4 separate regions of the Homo sapiens genome follow, and regions 1, 3 and 4 are each linked to region 2. Evidence: promoter capture Hi-C in 16 types of primary human blood cells and fetal thymus (Javierre and others, 2016). All regions are on one chromosome and are shown on one strand. The core of a region is centred on a gene start or on the middle of the fragment in contact, and the rest is flanking DNA. Distances in the headings are between cores, read along the strand shown. Region 1 overlaps TMA16 (translation machinery associated 16 homolog). Region 2 holds the start of TRIM61 (tripartite motif containing 61). Region 3 holds the start of NAF1 (nuclear assembly factor 1 ribonucleoprotein). Region 4 has its middle 9.6 kb from the start of TMA16.

Region 1 (2,700 bases), core at 168-2,667, 1.5 Mb after region 2:
TTGAAACAGCCTTCTTTCTCCTCCTTCTCAGTCTCACTTGTGGAATGCTCCTTCTTTTCCTAACCTCTAAATGGTAGAGGGCCACTGAACTCAGTAATTGGCTCTCTTCTCTTTCCTGTCAACAGTTACTCCTTAGGTGAACTGATCCTATCCAGTCTCACGGCTTGAAATCCCACATGGATGCTGATCGCTCCCAAATTTGTGTCAATACCCCTAACCTATTCTCTGAACACTAGACTCAACATATCTAACTATCCATTCCATATCTCCTCTTACATGTCTCATGGGCACTTTAACCTACATGCCTTATATACAGACCTCACATTTTTCAACTCTCTGTTCAAATGTAACTTCTTCAGAGAAGGCTTCCATGACTATCCCACGTAAAACAACTTCTCCCTCACTGTCCATCCCATAACTTTTTAAATTTTTCATGGCACTCATCACCTACTGCTACATAAATTACTTATCTGTTTTAGGTAAGCTCTAAAAGAGTAGAGTCCTTGTTCAGTTTCACCCTCTGCATACAGAACACACTTAATAAATATTTATGAAAGGGAGACAATACTGTGAAAGGATATATGTTTGAAAGATAAAAGTATAAAGGGGCTTTTTACCAACGAGTAATACAAATGATGAAAAGATACTTACTTTTCCTTTTTTTCTTGTTTGTGGGCCTCTCTCGTAATTTGAGCTGCTTTTCTACTATATGGATGGATGACTTTTTTTTCCCGTCCTGCACTTTTTCCCTTTGGTGCTTTGGGCTAAAATGTATGAAAACACATGACACATATAGTCAGATATGTAAGTGCCTTCAGTCCCAAAAATATTCTTTACAAATAAATTTTAAAAACAGTAATATGACAGAAATACAGTAAGCTAAAACTATTACAAGAAAAATCAGGAGATAAGCCAGGATCATTAAATAATTCTAATAATCTGTTGCCATGGTAATGACAGAAACGATATATTCAGAGGTGCTCTCCAATGACAGAAGAAAGGCACAGAAGGAGTCAATAAACTCAGCTCTTCAACAACATGTTCTATCTTCAAAGAAGATACAGGGACTACAGATAGTGAGGAGACTCACAGCCAGAAATTTGTTACAGTTAAGAAAATTAAGGGGTCAGAAGGGACTTGGATTATTAGTAGGGGCTTGATTGTAGATGTTTCACATGGAACAAAGCGGGCAATGAATCATGCAAAATCAAAGCTGGGCTCATTGCCTGTACAAATTAGGAATAGAGAAAATAATAGAAGCCATCTCAAAATTAGTATATCCAAAAGGAAAAATGTATCATTTTCCCACTGAAGCCTTATGCCAGTTAATCAGCCCACAATTCATTAGGTCCTCCAAACTAGACATCTCAGGTTTCTTTTATTCCTACATAATCCTGTATCTTACCTCACCTATAATGATCTAGGAATCATATTTGGCTCTCTGTAATAAAAACCCCAAATAATGGCATAACCCAGCTTAAGTTTGGTTCTTTATTGTTAAAAGTAGGAGCTGAAGGTTCTGTTCCACAAAGCCCTTAGGGATCCAGGATCCTTCCATTTTTTTGTCTACTAGCCTCAGGCTATACCTCCTATCTAGTTCAAGACAGCCTAATACCAGGTCTACACTCAAGCCAGTATGAAGTAGGAAAAGAAAAATCTGAAGGTACATCCCCTTTTTTTAAGAGCATGACCTGGGAAGTTGCAGATCCTTTTGCTCACATCCCACTGACCAAAATTTATTCACAGTGTTACATAAGGGAGAGTAGTAAATATAATCCTTATTCTGTGAGAAAAAGATCCATTCATATAGAAAAACAGAAAGAATACATTAGGGGACAGCTGGCAGTCTCCAACATACCTATTCCAGAAAAAGGCCAAGTGGCTTTACACTCTTCTTCAAAATTATTGTCAATTGCTTAATTCAATCCTCAGAATCTTTCATAATCAGGATAGTCTTTAGATTCTCCCCACTAGTCCTTTCTTCGGCAAAGCTACAGAGCTTGTCTTCATAAAACACTAATATAGTAAAGTCCCTCTCCCCTGCTTAAAGTGCTCTACTAGCTCACAGTTAGGTCCCAAGTCTTTAGCACAGAAACAATCTAGCCCCAACCTGCTTCTCCACCATTATTTCCCATGCTCCTCTATAAAAGATTCTTCACGCCATTCTTACTGAACTTCTCACCATTCCAGAACATACCAAGCTATTTCATAACTTCTTGAGACTGCACTTGTTATTACCTCTGCCTGCAAAATACTTTACTTGCCCTTTGATAAGATGCAGTTCAAAATTACTTCCTTTGTAAAACTAGGCAGAACTATTTAAAATAACCACAAATTCCTCATTCACAAATATATTCATTCTTTCAACACTCATTGAGCGCTCTGCTCGCTTTCTGATAAACCTGAGAAGATATATCCACATCTGAATCTTAAGGTATCACTGGAAGTTGGTTACAGGTATAGGAAAATATGTAGAACCATCATATAAGAGTATATGTACTCTTTTATGTATCTCTCTGCTCACATGGCAAGTGCAGAGGAGAAAGGCAGGTGTAATGAGGAATTTTTGAGATTAAAGTACCTAGCAAACATGAATCAAGTAAAAACTTTCAGGACATTTGGCAGGCTGCCTCTAAGATGGACCCAATAAACCCCACCTCCTGATCCTCATGCCCTTATGGAATCCCCTCCTTTTGAATG
Region 2 (2,700 bases), core at 14-2,513:
ATCCTGGCTAACACGGTGAAACCCCGTCTCCACTAAAAATACAAAAAATTAGCTGGGCGTGGTGGCAGGCACCTGTAGTCCCAGCTACTCTGGAGGCTGAGGCAGGAGAATGGCGTGAACCCGGGAGGCGGAGCTTGCAGTGAGCCGAGATCACGCAACTGCACTCCAGCCTGGGCCACAGAGCGAGACTCCGTCTCAAAAAAAAAATAAAAATAAAAATAAAATTATCATTTCTGGCTGGGTGAGGTGGCTCACGCCTGTAATCCTGGCACTTTTGGGAGGCCGAGGCGGGCGGATTGCCTGATCTCAGGAGTTCGAATCCAGCCTGGGCAACACGATGAAACCCCGTCTCTACTAAAAATACAACAACAAAAAATTAGCCAGGCGTGGCGGCGTGCGCCTATAGACCCAGCTACTCGGGAGACAGAGGCAGGAGAATTGCTTGAAACTGGGAGGCAGAGGTTGCAGAGAGCCAAGATCGCGCCACTGCACTCCAGCCTGGGCGAAAGAGAGATTCCGTCTCTTATTAAAAGAAAAAAAAATCATTTCTAAAATATTTTGTAGACGCAGGGTCTGGCAATGTTACCTAGGCTTGTCCTGAACTCCTGGCCTCAAGCGATCCTCCCACCTCTGCCTCTGAAAGTGCTTGGATTACAGGTGTGAGCCACTATGCCCGGCCTGTACTAAATTCTTTAAAGTTGAGAGGCTCCACATTGGCTCTTCTTCCAGCCTTGAAGACTTTGACCGTGGAATTGATCCAACGAATGCCTCTTCATCCCTCAAATTCCGCCTGAAATGTCACTTCCTCAGGTAAACCTGAGTTCATAGGGTAGGGCACAATCCCACAGGGTGGGAGAGATCCACCCACTCACCCACTGAGATGCAAACTAATCCAAAGGGGCTTCTATTCCTCTTTCAAGCATAGGGAGTGCTCAACGACTCCACCCTGCGACCCCAGGCTACGGGAAGCAGTTGACCCTGCAAAGCTCTCCACTCCCTCACCATCTGGGAGGGGACGCTGTGCTGGTGAAGCTTTTAAAACCAACTTGCAGACTTACTTGGACCCTCAAGTTTACTCATATACATAAAAAGTGATAAGAATCCGAAAAGACAGCCAGGGGAATTAAATGCCAGTTGGGGCCAACGGGGCCCTGATCACGGAAGAGGGCGCCCCCAGCTCTCAATCTTCACACAATCCCTGCACCCAGGGTCACAGAGCATGCGCAGGTCCTTCCCGCCCACTTCCGGGGCAACTGCCAACCACCGCGCAGGCTGAGCCCCAGGCAGGAAGCAGCCCACTTGGTGGGGTTGGGGTATGAGTCCTTCCTCGCGGGGGCTCGGTGGGTCCTGAGTATTCTTTGGCCGGATTTGCTGATCCGTCTGCTCCAGGTGAGCTGGGAAGGCCGCAGGAAAGGCCCAGAAGGGCCTCGCCAGGAGGCTTAACTGGACAGGGGCTTCTTGAACATTCTCTGTGCCTAAACCTCCGGGTCGCTGCCTGCCCACGACTGGATCTCCTTAGTGTCTGGCGTAGCTCTTGTGAAAAATTCAGGATTGTAGAGTTAGAATGGGGGTGTTGAGCCTGTATCAATTAAGCTTTAAATGTTATGATCTGAATTAGGGTTTATGAAGTGGCTATGTTATCTTCAAAGAGTTAATGTACGTGTTTGGGAGTGGGGGTTGGGGAGTTAAGGGAGCGAAGTGGTAGCTGCCAGTTGAGAACCCACCAGCCTACGTCGTCTGCACCCTCGACCTATGTAAGCATCCTGTAATCCTCACAAGGGTCTTACAGGTACGAATTATCATTTCAACTTTGTAGATGAGGCGCTTTAGGTGCAGGCATGTTAAGAATCAGCCAGTATGATGATGGTTGAAACTGAGAGCTTGGAATCTACCACAGGTTTTATTTATTCCTCAAACAAGCTAGAGACGTATTGCCACCAAGAAGCTTGCTGCCTGGTGAGGGGTTTTTACAGTTAGGTAAAGAATTGCAGAGTAGCTGTAAAATCACATAACTGTGATATGTGACATGATGGGAGCTAGGCAAAAAACTTGGACTAGATCTTAATGGATCTTTTTGCTTTGTTTTCCTTAAAGCATAGGTTCACAAAGTACAGTCCGCAGGCCAGCAGCATCATCTGGGAACTTAGGAAAAAACCAGCCCTACTGAGTCAGAAACTGGGGATGTGGCCCAGGCAATCTTTTACCAAGACCTCCAGGTGATTATAATGCAAGGTAAGATTTGAGAATTGCTTCCATAAAGTAATAAAGGACCAGTGGAATGTTTTCAGTTGAAATATGAAAGGATTCTGTTTGTATTTGAAAAGGTCAGTTTAGCTACAGACTTCAGAAATTGGAGGCACCATTGTGTATCTAGGAGAGAGACATAAGTGGTTTAAACTAGGGTGGTGACTGTGCCTACAGAGCTGTTCTGTTCACTTAATGTCCTGATTTTAAATAGTAGAGAAGACTGCTTTGGGTGTATGCTTGGGGAAAGGAGGGCACAATGATACCTGGAGTGAGTCCTCTTGTGTCCTTTATGAAGGGGTGGCCTGCCCCTCCACACCTGTGGGTATTTCTAGTCGGGTGGGACGAGAGACTGAGAAAAGAAATAAGACAGAGACAAAGTATAGAGAAACAACAGTGGGCCCAGGGGACCGGCGCTCAGCATACCAAGGACCTGCACCGGCACCGGCCTCTGAG
Region 3 (2,700 bases), core at 192-2,691, 1.8 Mb after region 2:
ATTAGGATTTAGATTAACTGCCCAAAGTCAGTAACACCAAACACAAAATGGTAGAGCTGAGGCCTGAACACAGGTCTTTTTAGTTGAAAACTCTGAGCTCTGCTTAATCATTGTGCTAGTAAGTTCGTATCCCAAGTTTAAAGTCCTTCTTCACTTTGGAGGATTTCCATGAAATAGCCTACCAATCCTACTTCCCATTTCTGCTGCACTTGGATTTTCTATTTCATATTTCAAATATTTTTCTAGTTATCTCCTGTGCATTGCCCTTCTCTACTTCAAGTAGATTGTAAGCTTCTTAAAACCTTACTCTTATTACACTTGCCTTGCATTTCTATGAAGATCTACTGTTGTAGATGACACACTAAATTCTCAGTGAATAATTTATAAAATCTTTAGCACAGTCCTTGGCACATATGCATGTTTAACAAATGGTATCAATGATTATTATTACTACACAGGGACTGATGCCTCAAACTGAAGACCTAATAGGAAACCAGAAAATTCTGATCTCTTCCTCAGTCCTAAGAACTCTGCTTGCTTTCTCCACAATTTAGACTAGTGGTTTCCAACAATAAGTGAGTACATTTCAGTCTCATAGTCTCATCTCTCTACTACGAAACAGTGCTAAGTATGATATAGACATCACCATAACATGAACAACACAGCAAAATTTTGTCCATTACTGCTCTCTTTGAGGGTACTTTGGAGAAAGGAAAATGGAATAGTTGTAGTTACATTTTTGAAAAAATGGTTAATACCCTATCTATCGACAGATGGATCTATTGATGGATAAACTTCATTTAACTTTCATGAAGTTACTAGCGTCTTGTCAAGACTTCCTGGCTCAAGTTTCTGATGTACAGAACTTAGCATTCTTCAGGCACCCCCCTGTTGTATAATCCCTGCTTCATTTTGGCGCTTCAAGCAGAATTGGTTCACATGCAGCAATAGGAAAATCCGACATTCAGGCCTTGAATGGTTCACATGACGCAGTGAAAACGGTCGATTTAGGGCCTCCCTAGTCCTGATTATTTTTTTTTGAGACGGAGTCTCGCTTTCTCGCCAGGCTGGAGTGCAGTGGCGCGGTCTCGGCTCACTCCAACTTCCGCCTGCTGGGTTCAAGCGATTCTCCTGCCTCAGCCTCCCAAGTAGTGGGAATTACAGGCACGCGCCACCATGCCCAGCTAATTTTTGTATTTTTAGTAGAGATGGGGTTTCACCATGTTGGGCAGGCTGGTCTGTGAACTCCTGACCTTGTGATCCGCCCACCTCGGTCTCCCAAAGTGCTGGGATTACGAGCGTGAGCCACGGCGCCCGACCCCCTAATCCTGATTTTCGAAGATATGACGCATGTATCCTGCCCCCGCGAGCGCCGTCGCGCCGTCGCGCCACATACGTCACACGCTCTTCGGAAAGCGTTGCTGCGTAAATGGCGGGGGCGTGTCTTTTGGCTCCTCCGCGTGTAGTTACCTGAGAAACGCGGGAAGTTGGGCCCAGGCAGTGTTGCTGCGGTTGCCTAAGTTGTTTTTCTATTTCTGGAGAGAGCCGTGAGCTTGTCCAGGGGCCCCAATCCTGAGGCCGACCCGGTTTCTGGCGCGGTGCGATGGAGGTAGTGGAGGCCGCCGCCGCTCAGCTGGAAACTCTGAAATTCAATGGCACCGACTTTGGAGTTGGGGAAGGTCCGGCGGCTCCGTCTCCGGGCTCTGCCCCTGTGCCAGGGACACAGCCGCCGCTACAGTCGTTTGAGGGGTCCCCGGACGCTGGGCAGACCGTGGAGGTTAAGCCTGCCGGGGAGCAGCCTCTGCAGCCCGTTCTGAACGCCGTCGCGGCCGGGACCCCGGCGCCGCAGCCACAGCCACCGGCTGAATCGCCGGCCTGCGGAGACTGCGTCACCTCCCCAGGAGCCGCAGAGCCTGCGCGGGCGCCGGACTCCTTGGAGACCTCGGACTCGGATTCGGACTCGGACAGGTCGGGTGCCTAAGGGACCCGGAGCTGTGGGGAGAGGTCTTGTATGACGGGCGGGGGTGGCTGGGGCCTAGGAGCCTAGAGGTTGCTTGTGTGGGCCCTGGAGGGTGGGCAGGTCGTTGGTGCTCCGGGCTCACGTGTTGAAGTATTGGCTCCGACTGCCCCTTATTCGCTGCCTCTCAAAGCAGGTCGCGTTGTGAATCTGAGCTTAGTACTGACTTATTTCCTAAATTTGGTGGCCTGAAGGGTTCTATGTATAGATCGTATCATTTTTTGTTAGACTTTAGAAAACCCGAGGATCTTAGGTTATTTCCGTAACTACTCAGTTTAGGCTGTACTTTTGTGGTTATAGTTGAGTTTTGTGTCAGATCTGATTTTTTTTTATCATCACATCTAGGCTTTGTTTTTTGAACCACATACATTGGGGATCAGGAAAAGTATTATTTTTTGTGTTTCAAAGCTGGCTCTTGATGATTACGTTAATTTATAGAATCCTTGCAGGGAACACGTGTTTATGAAAGTAGCCAAACAGTGTTATTTAGTAGTATCTTATGCTTCTTACGTTTTGTGAGAGCCTTTCCCCCTTGCCCCCACACCTGTCTTTTAAATATGAAATCTCTGGGCTGGAGAGGACTCCAGCATGTGGGATGTTACTAAACCACACTGAACATTGTCTACAAATAGTTGAGTGTGTTGAGTGGGGTACTGAACAGGTTAACAAGATAGACACGTGTT
Region 4 (2,700 bases), core at 57-2,556, 1.5 Mb after region 2:
TCTCATAAGACATGGTTATTTGATAAGTGTCTGTCATTTCCTATGCTTGCTGTCTCTCTCTCCTGCCACCATGTCAGATGTGCCTTGCTTCCCTTCACCTTCTGCCATGATCATAAATTTCCTGAGGCTTCTTCAGCCATGCGGAAGTGTGAGTCAATTAAACTTCTTTTGTTTATAAATTACCCAGTTTCCGGTAGTATCTTTATAGCAGTGTGAAAATGGACTAATATAGGTACCTAGTTTCTTTGAACCTGTAGCATCACATTAATTTACTGATGAAATCAGCTATACTGCTCTGTGTTGTCTATTAGGGAAGTGCTCAAAGACACATTCTCAACTGAATCCTTTTTTGAGAATTTGAGGAAAGCAGAAGGGTTAAGTTTCAGAGGAGAGAGCTCCAGGGACCAATAACCTCTGCTGACAGGAGTTGGAGGCCTGAACATTCCAGGGTACAATTCATCCTAGTCCTATTTCTATCAGCTCCTTATTAGCCTGGCCTTGTGCTCCTCTGGTAGTGCTTCACAACACTGGGAGGGCAGCAAAGCTTCCCAGGTGAAGTACGGGAGACAAGAGCTAAGATTATATATGACCTCCCCAGAGCCTCCCAAGCTTCCAGGGACATCCTCCTCCCCATGTGACTGCTGTGCTCTTCGGCTGCCTCCCTCCCTTCTAGTCACTAGTTCCCTTCTTCCCAGGGGTTTCTCACAGTCTTCATTTACTTCCAACAGCCAATTTCTTCCTGTTTCTGTAGTTTTCAAGGTTGATTTTGGAGACAGCTGTGCTAATTTATCATTTTTCTTATTTCTAGGAGTCCTGATTATACTTATAAAATTAGACTTTTGTCATATATAAATTAGTAATTTTTCTTTTGACCTGTTTGTGACTCTTCTTTTCTTTTTGGCTTGGGAAAAATCATAAAGTGCCTTTCAATAAGGAGCTAGTTGTTACAAAAATGAGTTAAAATGGCCCCTGGCCCTGTGTTGTTTACTTCTTCACAGCAGCCTGGGACTTCTTAACTCAAAAGCCGGCTACGGCCAAACTTAAATTTCTACACATCCAGTTGTTTTAAAATATAGCCCCCAAAAGCAGATTGTTAGCCATTTACAGCCTGCCTGCTTTGCACATCCTGAGAAACTGCACCCAACATCTGCTAACCATAGGTCCCATAGATTAGATAAACGCTGGGGCCACTGCTTCTCTCAGAGTTCTTTGCCCAGAGACTCCCACCATGCTGCTGAGTGACACCACCTAGACACATAACCCCCTCTAAATACTCTCCCTCAGATCTTCCTCTATGTCCCTTCTGGAAAGTCGCCTGTGCACCCTTGCCTTTGGAAGGTATCATGCTGTCACTGAGAAACTGCCCCTGTCCTCACCCCAACCCCCACCCTCACCCCCAGGCAAATCTGTCAATCTCTGCCCAAATAAACTGTGTGCTAGTGCCATCTGGTGGTCGTCCAAATCCCCTTTGTAACATATTTAACTCCTTACACAAGTTAAATTTGTTACAAAGAATTATCTGCCGCTGTTTTAAAGAAATGAGTTAGATTGATATGTACCTGTGTGGAAAAATGCTCTAAAATTGTTAGGTAGAAAAAAATGAGTTATAAAACAATGTGCAAAATAAATCCCATTTACAATAAAATGTGGAATGAAGACATATATATGCCCATTCATGCATAGAAAATATGTGGATGGAGTTACAATATGCTGTTTGTAATTTACGAGATTAGGATTGAGGTAGGGCGCTCAGGAAAGGACCTTTCATTGTATTCTTCTACAGTGTTTGAATTTTTCAAAACAGTGTATTTTTTAGCTTTTTTCCAATTAAAATGAGGAGGACTGGGGAAAGCTGAATTTAATGAGTACAGTGGCAATAATGCACCAATAAAGTGGTGCATTAGAGATATGCTGATGCAAACCAAAATATACAAGTTGATAATTGAGATTAGGCTGCAAGTGTTATTTCTCTTTTAAGAACAATGTTAATGAAAGGAAGCTTTGAAGTCGAAAGAAGGAAATTTTGGTTATTCTTGTTAAGATCATTTTATTAAATTTTGTTTTAGGATGCCTTGTCTTAACCACATCTACGTAGTAGCAGAATCAATAAAAACTGAGTTTGATAATGTTTTTGTTCTCTCATTGTCATATTTATAAGGCGTTATAAGTCACATATCTTTATGAATATATGAATATGTGATAGATTTTCCTAAAATGTATTGAGTTTTTTAGAGCAATGAATACTTTAGGTGAATCTTCATTGTTGTAGGTTGAATTGTGCCTCCCCCACCTCTCCCACTAAATTAATATGTTGAAGTCCTAACCCCCAGTACCTCAGAATGTGACCTTATTTGGGTCACAAAGAGCCTTACAGGGTCACTGTAGATATAATTACTTGAGGTCCTACTACAGAAGTGTAGGCCACTAATCCAATATGACTGGTGTCCTTATGAAAAGAAATTTGGACTCAGACATGTACACAGGGAGACTCCATGTAAATGTTGTGGTTATGCCGCTACAAGCCAAGTGTTATGGATTGAATTGTGTCCCCCCAAAAGATACATTGAAGTCCTAACCACTAGTATCTTAGAATGTGACCCTATCTGGAGATCTTTACAGAGGTAGTTTTAGGGTCTTTACAGAAAGGTAAAAATGAGGGTATTAGGGTGTACCCTAATCCAATATGGCAGATGTTCTTAT

Evidence for each region. The method cuts DNA at HindIII sites, captures the fragments that hold promoters and counts their contacts. A CHiCAGO score of 5 or more calls a contact.
Region 1: a contact is called between a fragment that was not itself captured here and the fragment with the promoter of TRIM61 in region 2, in 1 of 17 cell types (naive CD8 T cells). The highest score is 6.3, in naive CD8 T cells.
Region 3: the fragment with the promoter of NAF1 here is called in contact with the fragment with the promoter of TRIM61 in region 2 in 7 of 17 cell types (non-activated CD4 T cells, naive CD8 T cells, fetal thymus and 4 more); the score reaches 19.2 in non-activated CD4 T cells.
Region 4: a fragment that was not itself captured here is called in contact with the fragment with the promoter of TRIM61 in region 2 in 2 of 17 cell types (naive CD8 T cells and naive B cells); the score reaches 6.4 in naive CD8 T cells.

The regions. Positions count from the first base shown.
Region 1 is chr4:163,505,097-163,507,796 of GRCh38, reverse strand. It overlaps TMA16 (translation machinery associated 16 homolog), which reads right to left. Exons shown (of 7, transcript NM_018352.3): 2 at 652-764. Among named protein-coding and RNA genes, the nearest start is that of TMA16, 12 kb to the right of the region's middle. The HindIII fragment of the contact is 3,133 bases long and covers 1-2,700 here.
Region 2 is chr4:164,976,220-164,978,919 of GRCh38, reverse strand. It overlaps TRIM61 (tripartite motif containing 61), which reads left to right and starts at 1,263. Exons shown (of 3, transcript NM_001414904.1): 1 at 1,263-1,389; 2 at 2,095-2,232. RefSeq lists enhancers at 985-1,044, 1,075-1,154. The HindIII fragment of the contact is 561 bases long and covers 1,035-1,595 here.
Region 3 is chr4:163,165,631-163,168,330 of GRCh38, reverse strand. It overlaps NAF1 (nuclear assembly factor 1 ribonucleoprotein), which reads left to right and starts at 1,441. Exons shown (of 8, transcript NM_138386.3): 1 at 1,441-1,968. The coding sequence starts at 1,604. RefSeq lists enhancers at 1,488-1,687, 1,708-1,827, 1,858-1,937, 1,429-2,296. The HindIII fragment of the contact is 3,845 bases long and covers 294-2,700 here.
Region 4 is chr4:163,483,747-163,486,446 of GRCh38, reverse strand. No RefSeq gene overlaps it. Among named protein-coding and RNA genes, the nearest start is that of TMA16, 9.6 kb to the left of the region's middle. The HindIII fragment of the contact is 1,390 bases long and covers 612-2,001 here.